4 separate regions of the Homo sapiens genome follow, and regions 2, 3 and 4 are each linked to region 1. Evidence: promoter capture Hi-C in 16 types of primary human blood cells and fetal thymus (Javierre and others, 2016). All regions are on one chromosome and are shown on one strand. Each heading gives the region's core, a stretch centred on a gene start or on the middle of the fragment in contact. The rest is flanking DNA. Distances are from core to core; before and after follow the strand shown.

The links. The method cuts DNA at HindIII sites, captures the fragments that hold promoters and counts their contacts. A CHiCAGO score of 5 or more calls a contact.
Region 2: the fragment with the promoter of ATG9A here is called in contact with the fragment with the promoter of CFAP65-AS1 in region 1 in 3 of 17 cell types (naive CD4 T cells, total CD4 T cells and naive CD8 T cells); the score reaches 6.0 in naive CD4 T cells.
Region 3: a contact is called between a fragment that was not itself captured here and the fragment with the promoter of CFAP65-AS1 in region 1, in 1 of 17 cell types (M1 macrophages). The highest score is 5.4, in M1 macrophages.
Region 4: a contact is called between a fragment that was not itself captured here and the fragment with the promoter of CFAP65-AS1 in region 1, in 12 of 17 cell types (M2 macrophages, endothelial precursors, M0 macrophages and 9 more). The highest score is 12.3, in M2 macrophages.

The regions. Positions count from the first base shown.
Region 1 is chr2:218,998,664-219,005,468 of GRCh38, forward strand. CFAP65-AS1 (CFAP65 antisense RNA 1) reads left to right here and starts at 3,552. Exons shown (of 3, transcript NR_046086.1): 1 at 3,552-3,637. CFAP65 (cilia and flagella associated protein 65) reads right to left here. Exons shown (of 35, transcript NM_194302.4): 32 at 6,771-6,805; 33 at 5,289-5,792; 34 at 4,472-4,609; 35 at 4,183-4,358. The coding sequence ends at 4,274. It overlaps MIR375 (microRNA 375), which reads right to left and starts at 3,045; the gene lies at 2,982-3,045. RefSeq lists enhancers at 898-1,881, 3,324-3,618. The HindIII fragment of the contact is 13,795 bases long and covers 1-6,805 here.
Region 2 is chr2:219,226,796-219,233,600 of GRCh38, forward strand. ATG9A (autophagy related 9A) reads right to left here and starts at 2,841. Exons shown (of 16, transcript NM_001077198.3): 1 at 2,740-2,841; 2 at 1,639-1,690; 3 at 1,127-1,258; 4 at 975-1,018; 5 at 74-138. The coding sequence starts at 1,229. It overlaps ANKZF1 (ankyrin repeat and zinc finger peptidyl tRNA hydrolase 1), which reads left to right and starts at 3,011. Exons shown (of 14, transcript NM_018089.3): 1 at 3,011-3,105; 2 at 3,433-3,610; 3 at 5,133-5,245; 4 at 5,465-5,567; 5 at 5,695-5,888; 6 at 6,284-6,396; 7 at 6,491-6,638. The coding sequence starts at 3,463. RefSeq lists enhancers at 1,781-2,329, 2,330-2,877, 2,878-3,425, 3,096-3,205 and silencers at 2,556-2,605, 2,816-2,945. The HindIII fragment of the contact is 5,267 bases long and covers 211-5,477 here.
Region 3 is chr2:219,180,544-219,187,348 of GRCh38, forward strand. RETREG2 (reticulophagy regulator family member 2) reads left to right here. Exons shown (of 9, transcript NM_024293.6): 5 at 127-211; 6 at 519-662; 7 at 826-920; 8 at 1,097-1,232; 9 at 1,470-4,932. The coding sequence ends at 2,086. Among named protein-coding and RNA genes, the nearest start is that of RETREG2, 5.7 kb to the left of the region's middle. The HindIII fragment of the contact is 631 bases long and covers 3,529-4,159 here.
Region 4 is chr2:219,141,090-219,147,894 of GRCh38, forward strand. It overlaps NHEJ1 (non-homologous end joining factor 1), which reads right to left. Exons shown (of 8, transcript NM_024782.3): 4 at 6,568-6,706; 5 at 5,591-5,649. Among named protein-coding and RNA genes, the nearest start is that of NHEJ1, 16 kb to the right of the region's middle. The HindIII fragment of the contact is 763 bases long and covers 5,175-5,937 here.

The sequences.
Region 1 (6,805 bases), core at 2,302-4,801:
GAGCTGTACCCTCCTTCTCACCCTGGTTCCTGGCAGAAGCCAGCCTAGTGCTCAGGACGGAGCGCCTTCCTGCCTCACCCTATTTGAATCACTCCTCAGTTCATGACCTCAGTTTGGGAAGGTTGGGAGGGTCAGAGAGGAGTGTGCCAATTTCCTTTGTTCTTGCTCAGGCCTCTGCTCTCTAGGAAAAAATGCTTGGGAACCGAGCCGAGGACCTGGCTTCTGGAGTTGGTGCTTGTCCTGGCGCCATTTGGGGATTTTGGTCAGTCAATCCCCTCTTAAGGCCTCTGTTTTTTACCTATAAACTAAGCTGGCTGTGGGTCCTGGAGGGGCCTCCCAGCCTTGACTCCTGTGATGCCTCTGGAAGGTTCCTTCCCCTCCCTATCCAGCGTATGCCTGCCCCACCCACCCACCCGTCTGGCCTAGCCAGAATGAGGGGGCGAGTTGCCATGGTCTCCATGGGGACTAATCTCCAAGAAGGTCAGTGAGGCTCTGGTACTGCCTTGGCCGGATGGGGATTAGCACCTGGGTGTGAGCCTCCCCCCTGCCAGCCAGTGCCTCCACTCCCAGGTCCCTCCACTGTCACACAGACCCTGGGCGGCCTCTAAGCCCAGAAATTCCAAGGCTAGGCCAGAATAATTGGGGTGGGTGGGGGCAGGGCAGCTGCCATAGCTGTTGGCTTGTCCATCTGTGGCCAAGAGGGAAACTCAGAGAGATGGAGTCAGATCTGTGCCCCTCACTGGCCCCTGGTGTCCAGCCACGGCCTGGGCCTTGCCCCTCCCTCACATTCTGTCCTTTAATGGGAGGAGATGGGCTTCCAAGATAAGGGTATCACCCTCCCCCCACCTCCAAACCTGTCTGCCACCTAGAAATCACCTCTTTATCCTTTGCTGGGGCTAATTCCCACCCTAGTTTGGGGTGGGATGGGGCTGTTTTGCAGCTTCCCCCTTTCTCCATACACACGATGCCTCCCGCCTCTGGTCCCCTGAGCCCTAGCCCCATGAATCCACATCCCCAATCTCTCTCAGCGTACATCTCTTGTTATCTTGAATTGTCTCCATGTGTCTCTCTCTGTTCCTCTTCCCTGGTTTCTCTCTGGTCATCTCTGCCTCTGGTCTCGCTCTCACAGTCTAGGGTCTGCAGCCTCTGCAGCCCCTGGGATCTCCCCTGTGTTCTCACACCCCTCTTTCCTTCAGCCTATGCTCTTGGTCTCTTTCTCATCCTTCTCCATTTCTCTTCTGCTGTTTCTCAGCTGCTGCACTCCAACCGCTCAATCCCTTTTCCACTTCCCCCACTACCTGGTCCCTCCCCCACCCAGGGTGCTGACAGGGACGACAGGAAGCAGGCTCCAGCTTTGAGCAGGAGGGGGAGGGGGCCTGCCTCGTACAGCAGCTGCTGAGTGCCCCCCTCCCCATGCAGCCCCGCACCTGCAGGCCTGCCCGGCACTGGGAGACCCCGCCCTGTGGCAGCGGAGCAGCGGAGGAGGGACCTGGATGAGAGGCCAGATCCCTGGTAATGGCCAGCAACTGCAGTCTTAGGATGGATAGTGGGTGGGGGACTGGGGAAATTAGGCCCTGGGGTGAAGGGGCAGTAATTCTCAGTCACCAGGAAAGATCCCCGCCCACTGGGTGGCTGCCTCCTTCTCACCACCCTCCCCTCAAGGCTGTGTGTGTGTGTGTGTGTGTGTGTGTGTGTGTGTTTGGGAGGGGGTCATTCCAAGCAGAGATCTCTTTGTTGTGCAAACCCAGGATGTGGAATCCTGGCCCCTGACATGGTTGGGGAGGGAAGGGGAAGCCCTCAAAGACACAGGGAAGGTGCACCAGGACCATGCCAGGCCCCTGACAGGCAAATCTTTCAGTGCCAGGCAGAGTAAAGGGCTGGCCCAGGACAGAGCCTGGTCAGGGGGGCCAGGAGAGGGCTGCACACACCCTAGCCCAGGACCCAAGGACCTTCCCCTGCCCCTGGGGCTGCTCCACGAAGAGCCCTGCTGTAGTCCACCCTCTCCCTAAACCTGCCTGGGATCTGTCCAACGCCATCTCGCCCCTCCCCCTTCTCTCTCTGTGCCACGGACTCGGGCTCAGCAGATCCTTTGGGGCCTCTGGGTAGTTGGGTGACATAGGGGCACTAGAGCGGGTGGTGGTGGAGGGGACAATCCAGCACCTCTAGGAACATGCAGTTTGGAGGGACTTCTGACCCTGGTTCCCATCTCCCGGGGCTGCCTCTGCCTGAGCTGAGGGCCACCTACCTACCCCACCCCAGCTGATGGAAGCGAGGATGTGGGATTCTGAGGTTTGAGGAAGGTGGTGAACCGCTGTGCCTGGGGGCTTGTCCTTTTCAGTCAGTCTGACTGTCTCAGACGTTTTTAGACTGAAAGAGGGACCAAGGGAGTGTCAGGGAGTGACATCTCAGGATGTCAGCAGCACCACAGAGATCCGAGGAGTGGATTTGAGGCTCCATGGTGGCCCTCAGCTTCCCCCGCCCAGATTTTCCACACCTCAGCCTTGGCTCCAACTCCGTGAGGGCCTGCATCTTCCCCAGCATGACCAGGAGCCCAGGAACCGGGACAGGAGGCTGGGGAGGGCCTAGCCCCTGCGGGAGGCCAGACCAACCGTTCACTGAGCAAATGGGAAAACCAAGAGGCCGGGAAATGACTTGCCCAAGGCCATAGAAGTCGCGGGGACAGAGGCGGACTAGAATCCGGGTTTCCACCTCCAGAAGGGTTTCTGTTCTGGGCCACGGCCCCCTTCGCCACCCGCTGGAGCCGGCTCAGCCCGTATTACGACGCAGAATGGAGCCTGGCAGCCCAGAAGCTGCGGGCAGGGCAAGGCAGGGCGGGTGGGGCCGGATGGGAGCCGGATCTCCCCTGGAGCGGCGCACAGCCTCTCCCACCCGTACGGTTGAGATGGCGGTGGCGGTGGCGGCGGCAGGTGCCTGCGTGGCGATCAGGCCGGCCCCCGGGCTGGTGCTGAGAGGCCGCCCCTGCCTCACGCGAGCCGAACGAACAAAACGCTCAGGTCCGGTTTGTGCGAGGGGCTCGTCGCGGGGCGGGAGCGGAGGGCCCGGGGCCTGGCGGTCGCCCTCGGTGATCTCCTGGTCCTGGTCTTCCGCGAGCTCAGTGCTGCACAGCGCCCCGCTAGCCTCCGCCCTCACCTGAACGCATCTGCGGCTGACACGTCGGCGGCCGCGGCGGCCACCGCAGGTGCGCACCTGGCCCGCCCCTCCTTTCCCAGCCACCCTCCGCCCGGCTTTCCTGGCCCCTCCGCCCGGCCCAGCCTAGCTTGGCTTCGTCCCCAGCCCACGCCTTGGAGCTTGTCCCGGAGCCCGGGCTCCGTGTGCTCTTATACTGCCTGTTCAGTCCCCGCCCCCAGACACACACACTCACACCTGTCCAGGCGCCCGTTTGCTCGGGGCAAATATTGACTCATGGAGGCGGAGCGCTCCCCCCTCCCCCGCCCGGGCTCTGAGACCGGAGCTTCTCCGAGGCCTTGGTGGCGGGGGCGGAGGGGAGGGTGCTGGGGACCCTGGGCGCCTCTGGAACAACACCAGATGTCACTTTTCCACCCACCTGCCTCTGGGAGGGAGGAGCCGAGAAGCAGAGGACAGAAGCTCCCGGGCGGGGGTTAGGAGGAACCGAGAGGTGGGTATCCATCCTCGTCTGAGGACTGATTCACAGTGGGAGTCGCTTAGCAGGGTCTGTGGCCCGAAATCCAGTGGTGACCTCGACCCGCCCCAGCCTAGTTCCTGGCCCTCCGCGGCGTGCCTCAGTTCTTCCTCCCCAGCCTCTTGGGCACTCGGAGCTCGGCAAATGCTAAGGGGCTGGCCCTGGGGGTGCTAAGCCTCCGAGCAGGCGCGGCGCGGAAAGGTGAGGGGTGGCCGCCCTGCCCAGTGGACACCTGCTTCGCTGGCCAGGCCTGGCACTCAGTTACTGTGCACCAAGGTGCGCTGGGGCAAAGGCCAGCCAGGCCCCGTCCGGAGCGCCCTCCACTGGCCAGACCCGGTCCAGCGGCCGGCAGCTAGCGGCCAGGTCTCAGTCCAGCTGCAGTGTGGGCGGAGAGGTGCATCCTCCCGGGCCCTAAGTTCCCGCCGCGCCTCTGCAGTCCGCCCGGGCTGCTCCCTGCCATCCTTCCCTCTCAGAGCTCGCGCGCGCGTTCCCCCTCGTCGGGGAAATAAAGTCAAGGTAGATACAGAAAAAAGACTAGATGCTTTTACTGGCGGTGGAGAGGGGGCCAGGCGTGACCCCTAGCGGCATGTCGGAGAGGCTGGGCGCGGGCATTTACGGAAGGTCGGTAGGAAGTGGCACCACCGGGTGGAGTACCTCTGCTTGCTGCGTCGGCAGCAGCGTGTCCGGGGTCAGACTCCTGGAAGACAAAAAGTCCCAGGTAGGCGTGGGGGCGAGGCTTCGGGCAGAGCCTGGCTGCCCCCGTGGCCCCTCTCGCGCGGTCTGCGCGGCCGCTGGTCCCGGCGCCCTTACCTGGGCACGCAGAACGGCGGCAGGGCGATGACGCGTGGCCGCGAGGTGAGTACCACCTCCCCGCGGCTCGCCTCCACCAGGATGTTCTGGATCATGTTCTCCAGCAGCGCCTCCTGCAGGTTGGCGAAGGCCGGGAGCCTGCGAGGGGGCGGGGGCTAGCATGAGGGCGGCCGCAGTGCCCGCGCGCCTCCTCGCTCGCCTGTCCGTGCGGTACATTGTGCCGCGAGCTCTACGGAGATTCCCATTCGACTCCCCTCATCCACTACACTATGGGGCATTCTTGTTTCAATGTTACGGACGTTCCAAGTGTGGCTAAAAGATTCCAAGTTGCCAAATATGCTGCTGGTTTAAGGGGTGGGATTCAAACCCAGGCGATGTAGTAGGCATCTCAGGGCCAAGTTTAGAGAAAGGTAGGGAAGTGATGAGAGGGCGCAGAAGGGACTGGGTGGGGCCTAGGGAATCCCTACAATGACATAAATCATCTGTAGGGCAGCCCCGGCGGGAAGTCCCACCTGCAAGACAGGTGGTCCTTTTCTGGCTCTAGAAGCCCATTTACAAGACTTTGCAGACTATAACAATTCTCCTGGTAAGTTGGTAAATGTCAACAACTAGTTCTTAGAGAAAAAAGAATAAAGTTCAGTGTTGGTGCCGGGCGGATACTCCCACAGAGGCCTTAAGCTACCAACATGACCTCACTAAGCACTGAATTAGGATGAGATGTGCATACAGGCAGCAGCCATCCTTGGCATCCCACTGCCTCCTAGGAACCTTCTGCACTTCGCCTCCCTCCCGTCCTCACTGGGGCCTGGCTGCTCACCTTCTGATGGCCTCCTTCTCGTCCTGTTCTTGCTCCTCCTTCACCATGACATTCAGCTGCTGTTGCCACTGCCATTGCATGGACTCCTGGGACTCAGGCTGTGGTGTGGGCCCGATGCCCGCCCAGCTCACTTTCTCTTCCTTCTCATCCCTCTCCTCCTCCTTCTCCTCTATCTCCTCCTTGCCCAACTCCTCCTCTTCTGTCTCCTCTTCTTCCTCCTCTTCCTCCTCCAACTCTTCTTCTTCCTCTTCACCCTTCTCCTCCTCCCCCTCTTCCTTCTTTCCCAACCCTGGATAGTGCTCTGGTCTGTCTTCCTTCGGCTGCTTGCCCTTCCCATCCTCCCAGCTGCTGGAGGGTACAGGCAGGATTGGCATTAAGTACAGGCTGTTTTTCTGGTCCATGAACTTAGTTGACTGCTCATTCCAGAATTGGCGGAAGTACGGCACCTGCTCCACCAGGCTTTGGTCCACAGCCTCATGGAAGTTCTTGTCTTCCAGCAGGCCCCTAGGTGGCAGGGAGAAGGAGAAGGCCCTTGCTGAGGGGCCCTGAAGCCCCTGGGGAGCCCTGGCTTCAGAGCTAGGTTCTAGGTGGGAAAGGGGCTGCTAGGTGGGGAGAGGGGAGCCCTTGGTCAGTTGTTCCTCCTGTCCCTTCTTTCAAGGAAGACATCTTTGAGCCTCATGGATTTTTAGAAGCGAACATGGTATGCTGGAGGCAGGGCAGGTCAGATTCACACACATGATGGGCAGGAACCCTGGGGAGATAGTGGACTGGCTCCAGACTCATCTGCCAGCCCTGGAATGGGGCAGAACTCAGGATCCAGACCTGAGAATCCCTCCAGCCAGCTCCATCAGAGCCCCACTGTCCTGGGGTGGGGGGGCCGGGGGGGGGGACCGTGGTGGGATCTTGCAAAGAAGTTCTGTTTCTTTTTTTCTTTTCTCTCTCTCTCTATTTCTCTCTTTCTTTCTCTCTCTTTCTCTCCTCTTTTTTCTTTCTTTCTTTCTTTCTTTCTCTCTCTTTCTTTCTTTCTCTCTTTCTGTCTTTGTCTCTTTCTTTCTTTCTCTTTTCTTTTCTTTTTTTGAAAAAAAGCTCTGTCTCCCAGGCTGGAGTACAGTGGTGTGATCATGGCTCACAGCAGCCTCAACCTCTCAGTTAATTAAGCTAATTAATGGTCTCAAGCAATCCTCGCACCTCAGCCTCCAAAGTAACTGGGACTGCAGGCATGCACCACCATGTCCAGCTAATTTTTGTATTTTTTGTAGAGATGGGGTCTTGCTATGTTGCCCACGCTGGTCTCAAACTCCTGGGCTCAAGCCACCCGCCCACTGCTGCCTCCCAAAGTGTTGGAATTACAGGCAAGAACCTCCATGCCCCACCAAGTTCTATTTCTCAAGAAAGGAAGAGTGCTGGAATGTAAGGGGCTCTGGCTGAATGAGCTGGAGGGATGCGAAGGTGGCAATGAGGGCCCAGGGTGTGAGCTGGTACCTGATTATTGTGGTGAGAATGTCAACCAGGAGCTG
Region 2 (6,805 bases), core at 1,591-4,090, 230 kb after region 1:
AAGTGTGAGTGCAAGGAGAGGAAAGACTAAGATGTATTCTTTCACCACATCATCTGTCCCTTCTTATACTTACATGAGCTCAAAGATCTCCCCGATGAGCATACATGTGAAGCCATTCTTCTGGTGCAGATTATAAACGTGTAATTGTTAAGAAAAAGTAGTCAGTAAAGAAAGCAGGTAAGAGCACAGACTTTGGTGTCAACACACTCAAGCTTAAGTCCTGGCTCTGTGACTTTCTAGCTGTGTGACTTTACCAAGTTACTTAACCTGTCTAAACTTTTGTCTGTCCATGGTGGTACATTAGGAATAAATAACACTTGTCTCATAGGAGTATTAGGTCTAAGATAATGCATGTAAAGCATTTAACACAGAGCTGACACAGAATGAGTCAAAAGACGTTACTTATTACGATTATTTACATCCCATCAAAAAGGAGGCTCGGCTGGGTGTGGTGGCTCACGCCTGTAATCCTAACACTTTGGGAGGGCAAGGCAGGTGGATCACTTGAGGTCAGGAGTTCGAGACCAGCCTTGCCACATGGTGAAACCCTGTCTCTATGAAAAATACAAAAAATAGCTGGGCATCGTGGCAGGTGCCTGTAATCCCAGCTACGTGGGAGACTGAGGCAGGAGAATCTCTTGAACCCAGGAGGTGGAGGTTGCAGTGTGTTGAGATCGCCCCTGGACTCTAGCAGCAACAGAGACAGACTCCATCTCAAACAAAAAAAAAAGGAGGCTCACCCTTAGAAAGGCTTCTACAAATTAACACCACAAAGTGGACACAGGCACACAGATCTTGGTAAATGTGGGCTATCATTACTTAACGATGATTTCACCAGCCTCTTTCAGCCTCAGGATGAGCTCCATTCCCGTTTCCAGGTATTAGAGTCAAACCTACCCCCACCTCCCACCAGAGCCCCGGCTTAGAGAGACATTAAAGGTCCCAGAGCTCCAACTCAGAAACACAAAGGATATTCGAGAGAAGAAGAGGTCAAGGTTTTCAATATGGTGCCAAGGTGCTGTGGGATAGGAACAGAGATGTCAGAGCCCTGGGAGAACACAAGCCCCTTGCTCTCTCCATGTTCTTCCATCAACTCTCCCTATGGCTGTCATATCCAAGAACTCACACTTGCTCCCCTCGGCGACGTGCACCAACAGGTCCTCCTCCCCTGGGGGTGAATCACTATAGGAGGCCTCTAGGCGCTGGTATTCAGTGTCAAACTGCGCCATCACCACCGCCCCCTGTCCACCTTGACCACCTGCCAATAAGGAGGAAGAAGAGACCCTGATTCAGTTCCAGCTGCTGCCCATGGGCTGCCCTGCCTACTGCCAAAAGGAGAAAGTACCCTTGGGCTTTGTCCACTACCAGCCTCCTTGGCTCAGAGGCAGAGGAGTAGTGACACAAGAAAGGCAGTAAGCTCAGGGCTGGGGGAGCCTTAACTCTGGCCAGTCTGGGTGTCTACTGCTGCTTTCCTGGCCCAAAGCCAGAATCTGTCCCTTTGTTGGGGGCTGTTTCATCTTCTATTTAACGGACAGAAGAGTCCCTCCCCCGCCCATCCTGGGAACCCTGGTCTCCCAAGAGACTAACAGTTTGGAAGCACTTCACAAACAAATGTTTGAGAAAAGCACATGGCCCTACCAGCTCCATGGACAGTATGTGCTCCTCTCCAGCCCTCGATGCTCTGCAGCTGCTGGAGGAGAAGATGTCAGGCCCCAGAGAGTGGGCAGTGGGGATAAAAAGGAACCCAACCCTCCCAGCCATCCACACCCCACCAAGAGGAGGCCAAGCATGGGGCAGGAAGGCTGCAGTGGGGAAGAAGCACCCTTCCAGCCCAGGACTACGAGCACTTCCTCTGGCTGTGCTAAACCGGGCCACTCTTCCAACTCCAGGGTCTCAAGAAGTAACTTAGGGACCCCATGGAGAATGAGTGGGTACAGACCTGAGGCCAGGGGCGCCTCTGGACTATTTCTCCATTGCCCTACCTTAGCCTCAGAAATGACATACTTCTCAGGGTCCACAAAACCTCAAGAGTCTTTCCTGAAGAGGACCTTTCTGGTCAACCCCTTCTCTTACTTCCCTAGCACCAAAGATCCAGCCGGTGAGCAAACCTTCTGGATGGGAAACCTTGACTGGGTCAGTGTAGACCCCCGATCCTAGGTGAATTTGTGGGTTCCCTAGGTCCTGTAAGCCAGGCATGGTCGAGGTGGTACTCACCTGTCCGTGCAGCCCCTGGGGGCCGTGGATCTTGGCCCAGCCTGGCCCCGGTGGGATTCCCTGGGCTAGTGAGAGCCCTGCCCCTCAGGGAAGTCACCACTCACAGGGTCAGTGTGGACCAGGGCCCGTGGAGCCCCGGCCGGCTGGGCCTGGGCTCAGGGGTTCCTGCGGATGTTGCAGGGATCGAGTCAGCCTTACAGCTGATAGCCCGGGTGGGTTGGCTTGCCTCCCCACACCCAGCCGCGGCGACCGTGGACCGGAGTCCACCTCGCCCCAGGGTCGCCCGGCCCCAGGCCAAGGGCTGGCAGCTCCCAACAGCGGACAACCTCGCGCGCGGCCCCGGCGCCCGCGCGCGCCCCCGTCTGCGCGCGCCAGCAATCAAAACATTCCGGCTGCGCGCCCCCGCCCCGCCGGCGGCGCCCCTTCCTCCGTTACCCGCCGCGAGCTCACTTAGGGCTCCGCAGGCACCCCTGGGCAAGGCCAGACACGGGGCCTGGGATTCCAATAACCGGTCTCACGTCTTACCTCAGGAACAGCGACCCGGGTGATTCCAGAGGCTCCGCCGGCTCCGCTCGGCTCGGCTCGGCTCGGCGCGACCCGCGGCGCTAGGCCGGGTGTCTGCCACTCACTGTCACCCGCAGCCAGGCTGGCCAATAAGCACGGGGGGCGGAGACACAACGGCCAATTCTCGGCTTCAGGGACGGGACTAAAGTCTCGAGGCGGGTCTTGGACAGTCAGCGGCCCAATAGTGTGCTCTACGTGGGGCGGGGCTCAGGTGCGGACGCCGCCGGTTGTCCTCTTCGCTGCTCCGTAGTGACGGGGATTGTTGTGTTGCAGAAATCCGGCAATCGACCTGAGGACTTGCGAGCCGCTCAGCTCCCGGGACGTTTGGTGCGTCTTCTAAGGGCGTGGGCGAGTTTACGCGGGCCAGTTGTTGCTGGTCGCATGGGTAACGAAGAAAGTTCGGCTAGGCAAGCTCAGTGATTTTTAACTCTGTTGGACTCGATTTGGGAGCCGAATGCCTATTTCATTCTTTTGTGGGCTGAGACTGGGGGTTTGAGAAAGTGGACGGGGGCCAAGGTATTCATCTCACAGTTGGTAGCAGGATGAGAGACGAGAAGTCTTGCGGTGCAGGAGAAACCAAGTCAGGCAGGCAGGAGACGCAGCAGTAGGATCTCGTTTGCAGGAGCCCTGTTTCTTACACGCTTTCTACTCCAGGAGCTGCTGCTAAATAATTTCTGCTCAGCCATGTCGCCGGCTCCAGATGCAGCCCCGGCTCCTGCGTCGATCTCCCTGTTTGACCTCAGCGCGGATGCTCCGGTCTTTCAGGGCCTGAGCCTGGTGAGCCACGCGCCTGGGGAGGCTCTGGCCCGGGCTCCGCGTACTTCCTGTTCAGGTATCCTGGAAGGTTTCGTGTGAAACGTGACAGGGCTCCTTACAGCGTATTGCCCGTTCAGGGAACACATTCTTATTGGTATTCCCGAGCTTAGGAGGCCAATTGATTTATCTTTCTGCTTGATTAAATTCACTTAATCTCTGGGTAATGTCCAGCACAGCCCTTGTTTTCAAACAAGTCTTTTTGCCATTGCATGTATCTCCTCACGTTAACACCATTCCCTTCAAAAACACTTTAAACTTTGTAGAGATAAAATTCTCAGATGTATTCCACATTTAACCAGGCCCCACTCAAATTATTCCTTTTTGCTGAATATGAAACAATTTATTATTTGTTTCGTATAGCTTTATTTTTTGAGAGTCTCGCTCTGTCGCCCAGGCTAAAGTGCAGTGGCACGATCTCCACCCACTGCAATCTCCGTCTCCCGGGTTCAAGTGATTCTCCTGCCTCAGCCTCCCGAGTAGCTGGGACTACAGGCCCGCACCACCATGCCCGGCTAATTATTGTATTTTTAGTAGAGACGGGGTTTCACCATGTTGGCCAGGCTGGTCTCAAACTCCTGGCCTCAAGTGATCCGCCTGGGTCAGCCTCCCAAAGTGCTGAGATTACAGGCATGAGCCACCGTGTCGGTCCTGTTTTGTGTAACTTTAGTTTGGCTACATCTTTTCTTGCACCTCTCCTTAGACAAACTGTACACTAATTGGAAATGTAAACTTTAAAAAGCATTTGGGAAGTAGTTTTTGTGCAGTGAAAAATAATTTTAAACTGAACAGAAATTATTTTCTTTAGGATTCACCTAAACAATCTGTTTGGCTAATTTAAATTAGACAAGACTCAAACTCAGCCAGTGGGGAGGACTTGCAGACGCTGGATCTCGGGAGAGGGCTACGTTGGAGAAGTTTAACCGACCCCAAGGCTTTTACCCTCATCGGATTCTTTTCCAGAATGCCCAGGGCCAGTTTTTATTTACATTCGTTTTATTTATTTTATTTTTCTTCATCTTTTTTGAGACAGAGTCTCGTTCTGTTGCCCAGGCTGGAGTGCAGTGGTGTGATCTCGGCTCACTGCAAGCTCCGCCTCCCCGGTTCATGCCGTTCTCCTGCCTCAGCCTCCCAAGTAGCTGGGACTACAGGCATCCGCCACCACACCCGGTTAATTTTTTGTATTTTTAGTAGAGACGGGGTTTCACCGTGTTAGCCAGGATGGTCTTGATCTCCTGACTTCATGATCCGTCTGCCTTGGCCTCCCAAAGTGCTGGGATTACAAGCGTGAGCCGCTGCACCTGGCCAATTTTATTTTATTTACATTCATTTTACGTACATGTTTTCAGAAGCATGTTTATTGCATTAAGTGATTGCTGTACTGTTTATTTCATGACTATTAGAGTGTAAATTCCTTGAAGGCAGTATCATGCCATCTCTTTTGTATCCTCCTCTGCTTTGTATATCACACTCTGAATATAATTCTTGTCACTGTGGATTTGGGCTCCCTTTCTATGTCCAATTCCTCTTCCCTTATTTAGGCTCAGGGGAGAGAGAAAGCCCAGAAAGAAAGCTACTCCAGGGTCCTATGGATATTTCAGAGAAGTTATTTTGTTCAACTTGTGACCAGACCTTCCAGAACCACCAAGAACAGGTAATAGGTCAGGTGCAGAGCTAGATGTTAGAAGCAAAAGTGTAATGGTGGGTGGGGAGAGGTAGACATTTGATTTGTCTTAATAAAGGTCCATGCTTTGACTGAGGCAGTTGGTGTTACCTGGTTGTACTTCCTAGAATACTATAACTGGTCTTGGCCAGTACAAGGCCAGGCTGGGGCATATTTCCACCTTTATCTCACTCTTTGTCTTTGTACTAGAGGGAACATTATAAGCTTGACTGGCATCGGTTTAACCTAAAGCAACGTCTCAAGGACAAGCCTCTCCTGTCTGCCCTGGACTTTGAAAAGCAGAGCTCCACAGGTGATGAGTGGTAGGGGGACCTATGTAGGAGTAGGACATGGAGGTATAAGAAAGCACTAGTTTAGAGTTTGAGGAAAGAACAAAAATGGGGTACCAAACTTGTGTATCTCATATTGTCTGTCTTCAGGAGATCTTTCCAGCATCTCGGGATCAGAAGACTCAGACTCAGCCAGTGAGGAGGACTTGCAGACACTGGATCGGGAGAGGGCTACATTTGAGAAGTTGAGCCGACCCCCAGGCTTTTACCCTCATCGAGTTCTTTTCCAGAATGCCCAGGGCCAGTTTCTTTATGCCTACCGCTGTGTCCTAGGCCCTCATCAGGCAAGTGACAGTACAGGTTGCATGGCTAACCCCAGCCTTTTGTACACCCAGCCTAGATTTCCCTTAGCCTAGTGCATTTCTCCCTGCTTCTCTTCCTTCCTGTTGGTTGTGGGTATCACGCTTGACAACATAGTCTTGAATTGAAACTGGCCTGAATTGTGGAAGGGTTAAGTGTAATGGAATTAAGTTTGGAAACAAACCAATTTAGGTTTGAATTGTGATTCTACCACTTCATCTTGACTGCCTCGCCAAGCCTCAAATTTCCTTGTTTGTCAAATGGAAACAAGCCTCAGGGTGGTAATATTAAATGAGATAATGTTTGTGAAAATTGGCCCTTAGTTTCTTGCTCTCAGTGAATGCAACAGATATGTTTCTGATGCTTCTCTGTCATCAAGGATCCCCCAGAAGAGGCAGAACTGCTGCTACAGAACCTGCAAAGTAGAGGTCCCAGAGACTGCGTGGTGCTCATGGCTGCAGCTGGGCACTTTGCTGGTGCTATATTTCAAGGGTGAGAGGGTGCTGCATGGGGGTAAGGATGGAGTGGATCCTGTTAGCCAGGGAGCACCAGCTGGTCTCCAGTACTGAGTCTGTGCTGTCTACAGAAGAGAAGTGGTGACACACAAAACTTTTCACCGCTATACGGTTCGGGCCAAGCGGGGCACAGCCCAGGGGCTTCGGGATGCCCGAGGTGGGCCATCACACTCTGCTGGAGCCAACCTGAGGCGCTACAATGAAGCCACACTATATAAGGTGAGTTAAGCCTTTTAGATCTGGTGGTACTGATCCATACTTTTTTTGCATCTCTGTTCAACTCACTGTTAAGTAGGGAGGTTTTTGACTCATATCCTTCCAATTTTCATTATAGGTAGACAAAGGTAGATGAGGGATTCCCCAGGAGCCTTAGTCCTCTATTCTTT
Region 3 (6,805 bases), core at 2,594-5,093, 180 kb after region 1:
AAACTGGACCACCCCATTCCTTGAGTACATACCCATCCTTCTACCAGCTGAGCAGTAGTTTCTTACCCAGCCGAGCGGGGCGCATATCTCAGCGTGATGTTCTTAGACTTTTGCTCTTCTCTGCAGTTCTGCGTTCGAGTCTGCTCTGGCTGTGCTGTGTTGGCTGTGTTGGGACACTATGTTCCAGGGATTATGATTTCCTACATTGTCTGTGAGTAGGGTCTGTCCCTGCCCTATTTAAAGCCCTCTCCTTTCTTCTTTCCTTGGACTGACCCAGAGGGAAGACTATGCTCTCTCTGCTCAGTTTCTGATTTGTGGAGATCTCCAGGGATGCTTTAGTATTAGTAACTGTGGAAGACTTACCTGGGGAGGAGGGCAGTGGATGTGGCAAGAAGAGGTTGGCACAGCCTTGGGAAAGGACCTTGCCTACCTTCAGCACTTCAGTTTAGGGACCAGTTGAATGGGGGCTCTTAGGAAATTGGCGTAGGGAGCTCTTAGTTCACGTTCTTAACCCATAGTGTTGAGTATCCTGCTGTGGCCCCTGGTGGTTTATCATGAGCTGATCCAGAGGATGTACACTCGCCTGGAGCCCCTGCTCATGCAGCTGGACTACAGCATGAAGGCAGAAGCCAATGCCCTGCATCACAAACACGACAAGAGGAGTAAGGGGCTGCCCTAAGCCAGGAGGGTGAAAGAGCGGGAGGGCCTTGGCTTGGGGTTCATGAGATGCCCTGGAATTGAGATCTTCTCCAGTTCTTTAGCTGTGTTTGTCTCCCCTCCCATCATTCATGCTTGGTCATTGCTCTACTACTCTTGCTTTTCTAGAGCGTCAGGGGAAGAATGCACCCCCAGGAGGTGATGAGCCACTGGCAGAGACAGAGAGTGAAAGCGAGGCAGAGCTGGCTGGCTTCTCCCCAGTGGTGAGGTCCAGGGAAAGCGGGGGTGTCAAATAGAAAGCCAGAGGAAAAATCTTTCTGCTTTGGAGCTGCCACCTCCAAAGGAGGTGGAAGCCAGAGGTTTTGGGAGAGGGGATGCTCCTGATAAATTGGTTCTCTTATCCCCTCACATGTCGTGTTCATCCTGGTTCTCCTGCCAGGTGGATGTGAAGAAAACAGCATTGGCCTTGGCCATTACAGACTCAGAGCTGTCAGATGAGGAGGCTTCTATCTTGGAGAGTGGTGGCTTCTCCGTATCCCGGGCCACAACTCCGCAGCTGACTGATGTCTCCGAGGGTATGGGGAGCCCTTTGCTGCCCTGCTCCCCGCCACAATCTTTGTGTTCCCTACCATGGGTACTTACTGTGCTCTCTGGCCCACTCACTCTCTAATTCTCTCAGCTCCTAAAAGACCTTAACACCTAAGGCTTGGCCCAGCTTTCCATGTCTTGAGTTCTCATCCTTGAACTCATTGTCTGTTGTGGCTAATCAGACCAGCAGCAGGCCCATTCTTAATTCTTTGTTCTCTGCACAGATTTGGACCAGCAGAGCCTGCCAAGTGAACCAGAGGAGACCCTAAGCCGGGACCTAGGGGAGGGAGAGGAGGGAGAGCTGGCCCCTCCCGAAGACCTACTAGGCCGTCCTCAAGCTCTGTCAAGGCAAGCCCTGGACTCGGAGGAAGAGGAAGAGGATGTGGCAGCTAAGGAAACCTTGTTGCGGCTCTCATCCCCCCTCCACTTTGTGAACACGCACTTCAATGGGGCAGGGTCCCCCCCAGATGGAGTGAAATGCTCCCCTGGAGGACCAGTGGAGACACTGAGCCCCGAGACAGTGAGTGGTGGCCTCACTGCTCTGCCCGGCACCCTGTCACCTCCACTTTGCCTTGTTGGAAGTGACCCAGCCCCCTCCCCTTCCATTCTCCCACCTGTTCCCCAGGACTCACCCCAGCCCCTGCCTGCCCCTGAGGAAGAAGAGGCACTCACCACTGAGGACTTTGAGTTGCTGGATCAGGGGGAGCTGGAGCAGCTGAATGCAGAGCTGGGCTTGGAGCCAGAGACACCGCCAAAACCCCCTGATGCTCCACCCCTGGGGCCCGACATCCATTCTCTGGTACAGTCAGACCAAGAAGCTCAGGCCGTGGCAGAGCCATGAGCCAGCCGTTGAGGAAGGAGCTGCAGGCACAGTAGGGCTTCCTGGCTAGGAGTGTTGCTGTTTCCTCCTTTGCCTACCACTCTGGGGTGGGGCAGTGTGTGGGGAAGCTGGCTGTCGGATGGTAGCTATTCCACCCTCTGCCTGCCTGCCTGCCTGCTGTCCTGGGCATGGTGCAGTACCTGTGCCTAGGATTGGTTTTAAATTTGTAAATAATTTTCCATTTGGGTTAGTGGATGTGAACAGGGCTAGGGAAGTCCTTCCCACAGCCTGCGCTTGCCTCCCTGCCTCATCTCTATTCTCATTCCACTATGCCCCAAGCCCTGGTGGTCTGGCCCTTTCTTTTTCCTCCTATCCTCAGGGACCTGTGCTGCTCTGCCCTCATGTCCCACTTGGTTGTTTAGTTGAGGCACTTTATAATTTTTCTCTTGTCTTGTGTTCCTTTCTGCTTTATTTCCCTGCTGTGTCCTGTCCTTAGCAGCTCAACCCCATCCTTTGCCAGCTCCTCCTATCCCGTGGGCACTGGCCAAGCTTTAGGGAGGCTCCTGGTCTGGGAAGTAAAGAGTAAACCTGGGGCAGTGGGTCAGGCCAGTAGTTACACTCTTAGGTCACTGTAGTCTGTGTAACCTTCACTGCATCCTTGCCCCATTCAGCCCGGCCTTTCATGATGCAGGAGAGCAGGGATCCCGCAGTACATGGCGCCAGCACTGGAGTTGGTGAGCATGTGCTCTCTCTTGAGATTAGGAGCTTCCTTACTGCTCCTCTGGGTGATCCAAGTGTAGTGGGACCCCCTACTAGGGTCAGGAAGTGGACACTAACATCTGTGCAGGTGTTGACTTGAAAAATAAAGTGTTGATTGGCTAGAACTGCTGCCTCCCTGACTGTGAGCTGCCTTCCACACCCTGCACTGCACTGTGTTCTCTCCTCACCCTTAACCTGCTTCACTCCAGTCTGTTCTGGCTGTTTATTACCTTGTTGCAAAACAGGGCCGAAGCAAGGATTACCTTGACAACCCTAGCTTCTCCTTAGCCATCTTCCTTGACAGTGTGATCTGTTTAGTGAGATTTAGCATGTGTGAATAAAGTATATGCAGGAGGAAATTGCTTTGTCTTCCCAATCGGTAGAAATTCGGGACCATAAAAATTGTGTTTTACCATGTGGCCTACAACCTTAACACTGCTTTCTTAAGAAGTCTTCACCCATCTACATGCTAACAACTCACTCAGCCTGGATTTATCTTTACTGGGGAAGCCAAACAAGCAATAGAGGACCTTTACCTGTGTTAGAAATGAGTTGGAGCCAAGGAACACTGAAGAAATAGTATCTTAACAGTTACTGAGTCCATTGTATGTGCTTGGCTCTGCTCTGAGTGATTTATATGTATTAAGATTTTTCCTCACAGGTCAGATATATACTGTTACTAACTTCATTTTATAGACAGGTTAAGCTTCCTGAAGGCCACAGGTCCCAGTAAATTGTGGAGCCAGAACCCAAACCCAAGAAGTTTTGGCTTCAGCAAATGCATCAGACAGCCCCTGTCCATTAATAGGGCACAGGTAGGAAGATGCACAAGGATGTGGGAACTATAGAGAACCAATCTGATGCCTTGGCTTAACAAAGAGTGGACATGGCAAGCCTTCCTCTTTGGGGAAGAAAAGCCCAGAACTGAGCAGATGGCCTCCTTTATGAGTTCATGTCCTCCGCCTTCAGCTGGAGGTACCATATGGCGATGCTACCTGTCTTTCTGCTGGAGGTACCATATGGTAATGCTGCCTGGCTGTCTGCTGGAGGTACCATATGGTAATGCTGCCTGTCTTTCTGAGGTTGACTTTTATGCCATGTCTTTCCTAAGTGTGTAAGAATTTTTCTGTTTGCTTCACATTTGACTGAGAATCATTCTAGGGTTTGATTGAGCCCCTGTCCTGTGCCACTAAAGGAACTCGAACTTTTCATCACTTAGAGATTTCAGAGGGGAATGGAAAAACAGTTCTAATCAATAAGCAAGCAATTCAAGAAAAATAGAATTAATCAGGCAATGACTGCAACATGTCCTATCTTTAATCTATTTTCTTATTAAGCTTGGACATTGACAATAGAACCAGAAGCTTGTAGCTGGATCAAAATATTCTCCATAGGCCTGGAGTTTCATGAGGGTCTATTCTTTTGTTGTTGTTGTTTTGGTTTTTTGTTTTTTGTGGGTTTTTTTTTTTTTTTTTTTGAGACGGAGTCTTGTTCTGTTGCCCAGGCTGGAGTGCAATGGTGCAGTCTTGGTTCACTGCAACCTCTGCCTCCCAGGTTCAAACAATTCTCCTGCCTCAGCCGTCCAAGTAGCTGGGATTACAGGTGCATGCCACGATGCCTGGCTATTTTTTGTATTTTTAGTAGAGGTGGGGTTTCACCATGTTGGCCAGGCTGGTCTCGAACTCCTGACCTCAGGTGATTCACCCACCTCGGCCTCCCAAAGTGCTGGGATTACAGGTGTGAGCCACGGCGCCCAGCCTCATGAGGGTCTATTCTTTACATTCACCATGGTCTGATGGTTGCTACATGTTTGTCTATGATTTTTTTTTTCTATTATCAGGTGTCTTGGCCGGTTCATGCCCCACGATGAAAGGGCCAGAGGTTTTCATATGAGTAAAAGAAAAAAGCAGAAATGTGAAACCTACAATTAGGCTAAACAAAAATCAACTGGAAAAGTACAGGCTGAGGGGAGAAGAGTTGGCTACATGTTTATGTTAGGGGAGGAGGGAGTACATTTTAGCTATGTATTCAAACAGCTAATAGTTTAATGTTGCTGCTTATAAACTTAATTTTAGGCTGCATTAATAAAAGTGTAGTCTCCAAAACAAGAAATGTGATAATTCTAGTGTCCTGTGCACGAATATCCTAATACTTCCAGAGGATGGCTTGCTAGGCTTGTGGGCAAATTGTAGTATGTCCAGGAGATGACTGCTAGAAATGAAGGCTGAAAATCATCATAGGACAAACTGTTGGAGGAACTGGGAATCTCTAATCCAAGAAGAGAGCTGAGTTGGTTCACATCAGCTGGCTTCAAACTTCAAAGGTTTGTCTGCAGGACTTCAGAGGGCAGATACGAGTTGAGTTTGGTTGATAATAGTGCTAGGTAGAATTTAATTTTCTAGTCAAGGGAATATTGCAAAGCAGATTTAAATGATCTGCAAAAGTATAATGATCAAGGGCGGTAATTCTAAGAATAATTCCAACATGGAAGGACAATATTATCACCATGTTTTGCTTTTAATGTCCAACTAAAGTCAGCTTGGACTTCTCTTCCTCTGTCTGCTCCCTTAAAAGTTGGTATTTTGGACCGGGTGCGGTGGCTGACGCCTGTAATCCCGGCACTTTGGGAGGCCGAGGCAGGCGGATCACAAGGTCAGGAGTTTGAGACCAGCCTGGCCTACATGGTGAAACCCCATCTCTACTAAAGTACAAAAATTATCCGGGTGTGGTGGCGCATGCCTGTAATCCCAGCTACTGGGGAGGCTGAGGCAGGATAATTGCTTGAACCCGGGAGGCGGAGGTTGCAGTGAGCCGAGATTGCACCACTGCACTCCAGCCTGGGTGACAGAGCGAAACTCTGCCCCTCACCCCACAACCTAAAAATGTTGGTATTTTGTTGGGTGTCAGTGGCTCACTTGTCTTTGCCCTCTGCTCACTCATCATGGACGATTTCATATATTCACCCATATAGTTCCCACTCAGATGCGGATGCCTTCTAAATCTTAGTTCATTTCCTTTCCCAGAACTCCCAACTAGGCATCTCCACTTGAATGTCCCATGGGTACTGCTATGATTTGAATATTTGTCCCCTTCAAAACTCAGTTGAAATTTAATCCCTAATGTGGCAATATTGACAGATGGGCCTTTAAGAGGTGAGTGGAGGCTGGATGCAGTGGCTCACACCTGAATCCCAGCACTTTGGGAGGCCAAGGTGGGCGGATCACTTGAGGTCAGGATTTCGAGACTAGCCTGGCCAAGATGGTGAAACCCCGTCTCTACTAAAAATACAAAAATAATCCGGGTGTGCTGGCACGTGCCTGTAATCCCAGCTACTTGGGAGGCTGAGGCAGGAGAATTGCTTGAACCAGGAAAGTGGAGGTTGCAGTGAGCCTAGATCATACCATTGCACTCCAGCCCAGGCGAAGAAGCAAGACTCTGTCTCAGAAAAAAAAAAAAAAAAGGTGAATGGATAAATCCGTTCATGAATTAATGGGGTGATGGAGTAATGAGTTATCATGGGAGTGGAACTCATGGCTATATAAAAAGAGGAAGAGAGATCTGAGCTAGCATGCTCAGCCCCCTCACCATGTGATCCTCTGTGCTACCTGAAGACTCTGCAGAGTCCCTATCAGCAAGAAGACCCTCACCAGATGCGGCTCCTCAACCTTCGACTTCTCATTCCCCATCACTGTAAGAAATTATTTTCCTTTATGAATTACCCAGTTTCAGGTATTCTGTTACGATACAAACAACGGAAAATGGATGAAGACAGGTAACCTTCTGCTCATTATATCCAAAACTGAACACATCCTCTTTCCACTCTGCACTCCACTCCCCCACCTCCCCAAAACAGAAGTCTTTTTCTGTAATTTCCATCTCACTTGCTGGTATACCAACCACGAAGGCCTCCTTCTCCCTCATCTCACACTCAGTTGATCACCAGTTGCTGCTGATTTCTTGACTGTCACCTCCATCACAGCC
Region 4 (6,805 bases), core at 4,306-6,805, 140 kb after region 1:
GACAGAAAGGCCAGGAACAGTGGCTCACACCTGTAATCCCAAAACTTTGGGAGGCCAAGGCAGGTGGATCACCTGAGGTCAGGAGTTCAAGACCAGCCTGGCCAACATGGTGAAACTCCATCTCTACAAAAAATACAAAAATTAGCTGGGCGTGGTGGCTCAAGCCTGTAGTCCCAGCTACTCAGGAGGCTGGGGCATGAGAATCTCTTGAACCCAGGAGGCAGAGGTTACAGTGAGCCGAGATTGTGCCACTGCACTCTAGCCTGGGCAACAGAGTGAGACTTGGTCTCAAAAAAAAAAAGCAGGGGGGGAGTGGGGGAAAAGGGAGAGAAAAATGGCTAATTTCAGACAACGGGAGGTAGAATAGAGAAGATAGGCAGATTCAAAAGACGGTCAATAAATTAGGCTTTGAAAGTAAGGACAAAGAGGAAAGTGAGTGACTCCCAAATTTCTAGCTTAGAAAACTGAATGGATGATGGTATAATTCCCCAAGATAAGGAATATAAGAGAAATAGTCTGGGGGAGTAGATAATTCATTTTGGACATGTTTAGGATGTGCTTTATGTGGGACATCCAGGTGGAAATGCCAAACATGCAGAAAGAAATATGGGCCTAAAACACAGTGGAGATATAAAATTGGTATTCAGCGATGTACCAACAATAGTTGACACTGGGGTCTAGATGAGATGACCCAGAGGAAGGAAAGTGAAGTCTCAGAGGATCAGGGACCTGATCCTGGGAAACACTAACCTTTAAGAGGCAGGCAGAAGACGGAGAGCCAGCCAAAGAAACCAATTAGAAGTGTGAACAAGCTTAACAAGATGGCAATTTTCAAGTTAAAGCATTGCCCATCTTCCCCAGGCGATATAAGCTCTAGCTTCGTAAGAGCAGCAGTGACTCTCTTCATAGTTTAAAGTATCTGCTCTAGAATCAGGCTGCAACCAGACAGGAGCTGAAGACAGTAACTAAAACTAGGCAGAATATAACAACCATGGCTGCACTTAGGATGCTAAGTCAAATCAATGTTAACTATAGCCCCCTAATTTCTTAGCTAAGGTATTATACTGAACAGATTAAGACTTATAAGGCATTCAGAATGCAGCAGTAAGAACGACTGCAGGGAAGAGAAGAGAAGAGAAGAGGAGAGAAGAGTAGAGAATTGCAAAATCTCCATCTCTGCTAAGGGACCCCTACCAAAGGAAGCCAACTTCAAGCAACTGCCCAGGTTTTGGTGTCAAGGGCTGATTCCTAGCCAGGGGTTGCCAGCTGTAGAGGGCGGGGCTCTATTTTGGGCTGCCTGCTGTCCCTGAGCCTGGCCGCGTCTGGTTTGAGCAGCATGCAGCCCCAGTGACTCACACACCCATGCAAACTGCCTGTGGCTCAGTGGCATGGCCTTGGAATGCCAGCCTTAGGCCAGCTCCCTCCTCACCCCATTACACTGGGATAAATAAATAAAGAGCCCGCCAGCAGCCACACAGCCTGATGGCAACCAGATGGAGAGAGCGAGGCATGGACAGGGCCAGGGGAAGGAACTCCCTCCAGTGGACTAGACTGAGAGTGGGCTCTGCCCAGTCATCCTAAACTTCCTTTTTCATATAGTTCCTACTGCCGTGTAACAACAGTCCCTAAGTCCCTGACTCTTCTTTCACTCCTAAAGATGCCTCTCAACCCCCAGTCCTACAAAATGCCCTATATAGGGTTCTTGGCCTCCATGAAGATCATGCCAACAGGCATCCCACCCAGGCTTGACTTGAGTCAATATTGTCAGTATCACCCTCTAGTTAGGCCACTATCAACTGGCTCCTTGGGTTCCCCAGAATTGAGAAATCAGAGGCTCTTAGACAGAGTGGAAAAACAAAAGGACCAAATAGGGAGAAGTAACCCCTGTTCAATTCTTATTTTCCCGAGCCTTAGTATCCTAGCCACCTGCCTGGCCTACTGTCCCCTGTGCCTTATTGTCTATAGCCTCTTGCCTAGTAATAATCCCAATGAGAATTTTAAAAACTGACCCCAGGCAATGACCGCATGGCCCTCTGACACCAGCCCTGGCCCCCCTGCGCCTTCATCTTGAGCTCTCTCCCTGGTTTGTTTATCTTCCTATTCCATCTTGCTTATTTTGATGGCACATCCTTTCAGTTCAGTCTTGGGTGACCCCATGACCCTTCTGTGTCCTGTTTGTAGGACCCCGGGCAAGCAGAGTAACTAAAAAGATGCAGTAGTCATAAGAAGTTCTACAGCCCCAGTAGGAAACCTTTCAGTTCCAGCAGCTATACAGGACATTCTGAGGACAGTGCAATGACCCCAGAGGTCACAAGAATTCCATATTACCCCAGCCCTTATGTCTCCCCTAACAGGTGTGTACAACCAGTTAAACTAGCAAAACAAAACAGGGATAATCCTAGACTATGTGTCAAGAAATGTGAGAAGTCCTAAACATAAAGCTACAGCTATATGACCTTAGGCAAGTCACTTAACCTCTCTGAGGCTCAACTTCTTCATCTATAAAATAGAAAGCTGTAACTACAACTACCTATCTCTCACTTCCTTTCCAGATATAATAAAATTCTACAAGTCTATGAGGTTGATCCACCCAGAACCTACAGGACCAGTATTCTTGAAGTAGCTGGTTCCAAAACACTGATACTCTTCCTGTGCTGCCACCTAAATTCTGTATGCTTTCTCATTCAATTCCGCAGGGCTCCTCCCAACCCCATAGTATGAAAACGATGAGCCTCTAATTTTATAAATGAGAAGTGATTTATCCAAAGCTGCAAAATGAGCCATGAGAATAACTGAAGACCCCAAATATAGGTCTAATAAGCAACACTGAGCCAGGTGCAGTGGCTCACGCCTGTAATCTCAGCACTTTGAAAGGCCAAGGTGGGCGGACCACATGAGGCCAGGCATTCAAAACCAGCCTGGCCAACATGGTAAAACCCTGTCTCTACTAAAACTACAAAAATTAGCCAGGTGTGGTGGTGCATACCTGTAATCCCAGCTACTCAGGAGGCTGAGGCACAAGAATCTCTTGAACCCGGGAGGCAGAGATTACAGTGAGCCGAGATCACCCCACTGCACTCCAGCCAAAAAAAAGCAACACTGTATCCACAGGCCACAGTGTCATAATCTGTATAAAATCCCCCTAGCATAGACTTATCAAAATATTAATCCAAACTTATTGAAGACTTACTACCTGTAGGCACCACGCACAGTGCTGGGGATATAGAAATGCATTCAGCATGGTCCTTGCCTCAAAGAGTCCACAGATCAGTGGAGGAGAAAGCCATAGTCTTGCAGGCATACAAACAGTAATATTACAATGTTATAAGTGGTAAAACAGAGGTATAATCCAAGGTACTATAGTAGCAGGGAAGAAGAATAGTCTTTACAAGCAGAGTACAGAACGGTCTCCCAAACAAGGTGAAGCTGACATCTAGAAGATTAATAGAAGTTTGCAAGTTAGATAAGGCCAGAACATTGGACATTCTAGATCATGGGAAGAATGTGTATCTAAAGACAAGATGAAACAGCATTGGGGCAAATTAAAAGTCATTCCATATAGCTAAGGCATAAAGTACACAGAGAAAAATGTCAAGAAGTCAAGCTGGAGAGGTATGCAGGCACTAGATCAGGAAGAGACCTCTCTACTGAGCTAAGAACAAGCCTTGCATTGTTTAACTAAGGGGATGAGGCAGGGAACCAGCATGTTATCCCCAGCCTTGATACCTAAACTTATAGACAGGGGAAGCTATCTAAGAGAAAAACGGCCTAAGAAATCTCTCTTAGTCACAAGTTTAGGTTTAACGGTCTCTCTTTACCCATAAAAACTTGAAACCTTTTCTAGGCTAGGCATGGTGGCTCACATCTATAATCCCAGTACTTTGGGAGGTCAAGGAGGGTGGATCACTTGAGGCCAGGAGTTCAAGACCAGCCTGATCAACATGGCGAAACCCCGTTTCTACTAAAAATACAAAAATTAGCTGGGTGTGGTGGTGCGCACCTGTAATCCCAGCTACTTGGAAGGCTGAGGCAGGAGAATTGCTTGAACCTGGGAAAGGGATGTTGCAGTGAGCCAAGATTGTGCCATGGCACTCCAGTCTGGGTGACAGAGCAAGTGAGGCTTCGTTTCAAAAACAACAACAACAACAACAACAACAACAAAAAGACTTGAAACCTTTTCTCTTTCAGGACTTAGCAATACAAGTTTTCCTTCTTCTTCAGACTTACAATTGCTTCAGTACCTGGACTGAGCACCTACCTCACATTTTTTGCTTTTAGTGTTTAGACCCCAAGCATTGTAGCTCAGTCAATGCACAGAGGCAGAACAGGAGGTTCCAAATAAAGAATACCTGCTTTATGCCTAGCCCTTTAAAAAGTGCTAATTTAGGGTTCAAAAGAGGTACGGGACACAGACCCTGTCCACAAAGAGCTTACAAATTAATCTAGAAGACAATAAAGAAATACAAATAATCTATACATAATACCAGATTATAATAGCATTATTTACTTACATGATAAAGTACCAACTTGGGTAACATATATAATTAGAAAATGGGGCAATAGGCCGGGCGCAGTGGCTCACACTTGTAATCCCAGCACTTTGGGAGGCCGAGGTGGGTGGTCACCTGAGGTCGGGAGTTCCAGACCAGCCTGACCAACATGGAGAAATCCCATCTCTACTAAAAATACAAAATTAGCTGGGTGTGGTGGCACATGCCTGTAATCCCAGCTACTCAGGAGGTTGAGGCAGGATAATCGCTTGAACCCGGGAGGCGGAGGTTGCTGTGAGCCGAGATCGCACCATTGCACTCCAGCCTGGACAACAAGAGTGAAACTCCATCTCAAAAAAAAATAAAAAAAAAAAAAAGAAAATGGGGCAATAATACTAAGGTACTAACTGTACAACCAACAAGTCACAGAAGAGGGAGGGAAGGAGAAGATCAATATTGACTGGCATTATCAAAGGTCACTATTATTAATACTTTCCCTATTTGGCATTTAATAGATGTTTCTTTTGGCTGAGCTCAATCCTTAGAAGGGAAACCTAGGCAGGAGCTTCTGACAGGCCACAATTATCTACTCCCCATTCATTCCTTTGCCAGTCCCCTTGTATAAACACTGTGATTTTCCACAACCTACTGTGCCCACAAGACAGCCCCCAAATGGTAGCCCTAAGCTTTTTACCTTCCTCTCCTGCAGGATCCTGAAAGGGCCTAGACAAGTAATGACGCCTACCCTTCTCCTCCACAGTCCAGACCTTACGACCAGATCTCAACAAGCAAAAATTTAATAACTGGTCAACCAACCTTTCCAAGGTTAGAGAATTCCAAATGAAATCCCTGGTACTTTAACAGAGATGTTTTATAAATATCAATCAGTCCACTTCCGCCTCTTACGTTCTTTCCCCGTTTTTTCCCTCATCTTCCCTAAGTACATCTCAAGCCTTATCAGACTTTCTATGGGCAACTTTTTCAGACAAAGGGCATTCCAACCACACAAGCCACCTAACACCCAAAACACAAATGGCCACTCAGGCACCTGGAAAGAGGAAGTAGGGCAAAGACACACAAGAAAATGACAAATACCTTACCTCTATCATAAATTGTTCCAAGAAGGAATTTTCTTCAAATGGTTCTGTCTTCAATCGATCTGTAATAAGAAGGATCAGAAAAAAGAAATATGAGTCATACAGGATGAGTTTCTTACCTGATGGAAAGGGAACAGAACAGGGCTACTTAGGAAAGAGGAGGAAGGTGCATCATGCAGAGACACCTAGTTCAGTGGGAGAAGAAGGGCTGAGAGCATGTGGGCAAAAAGTAGTGGGAGAGGGTGATTAGCAATAAATGGCAGGTTTGGTGGCAGCATCTGCTCTAGGAGTTTTTCCTGCCACAAAAACAAAGGCCAAATTGAATTTTTATTCTGAAGTTGGAGCCATGAAGCTTCCTAAACTCCCAAGTCCATGTTGCTCTGGTACAATTCTGTATAGCTATTGGCTCCTTTCCAAAGTCTTTCCCTGCCATTGCCTAGGGCATGTCTGGACTCGGTTACAGCTTCTATTGGCCACTTGGGCTCCAGCCAGGTACTCGAGGCAGAGAAAAGTGTCACCTAGGCCAGGCACGGTGGCTCACGCCTGTAATCCCAGCACTTTGGGAGGCCAAGGCAGGCAGATCACTTGAGGTCAGGAGTTCGAGACCAGCCTGACCAACATGGTGAAACCCCGTCTATATTAAAAATACAAAAAAATTAGCCAGGCATGGTGGCGTGCGTCTACAATCCCAGCTACTCGGGAGGCTGAGGCAGGAGACTCGCTTGAGCCCACGAGGCGGAAGTTGCAGTGAGCTGAGATCATACCACTACACTCCAGCCTAGCTGACAGAGCGAGACTCCGTCTCCAAAACAAACAAACAAAAAAGAGTCACCTAATATCAAGACTCCAGTTTCTGGTTAGTATTCAGCACCCATCCTGGGGGAGGCACTTCTCTAATGCAAATGAGTCTCCCTCTTTGCTAAGACCCTTTGACTATTTTTAACACGCCCCACCCAACTCCTCCAAGAATGTCCTCTTACCTCGAATCAGCGTAGCCCCACTCTCCTGGTAGTCTTGGATCTCTAGGTCTTTCATATGAAGTAACGTTGCTAGCTCCCTCACTTGGCACTGTAATGCCAGACTCATGCCCATCAGAGGACGAATCAAATGTTGGGAGACCTTTGAGGGAAGAGATATCAATTAGCCAAAAGACTCTTATAAAGTACTTTCCAATTCAGTATTAGGTACCAGAAAAAATACCGAAAAATAAATGTTCTT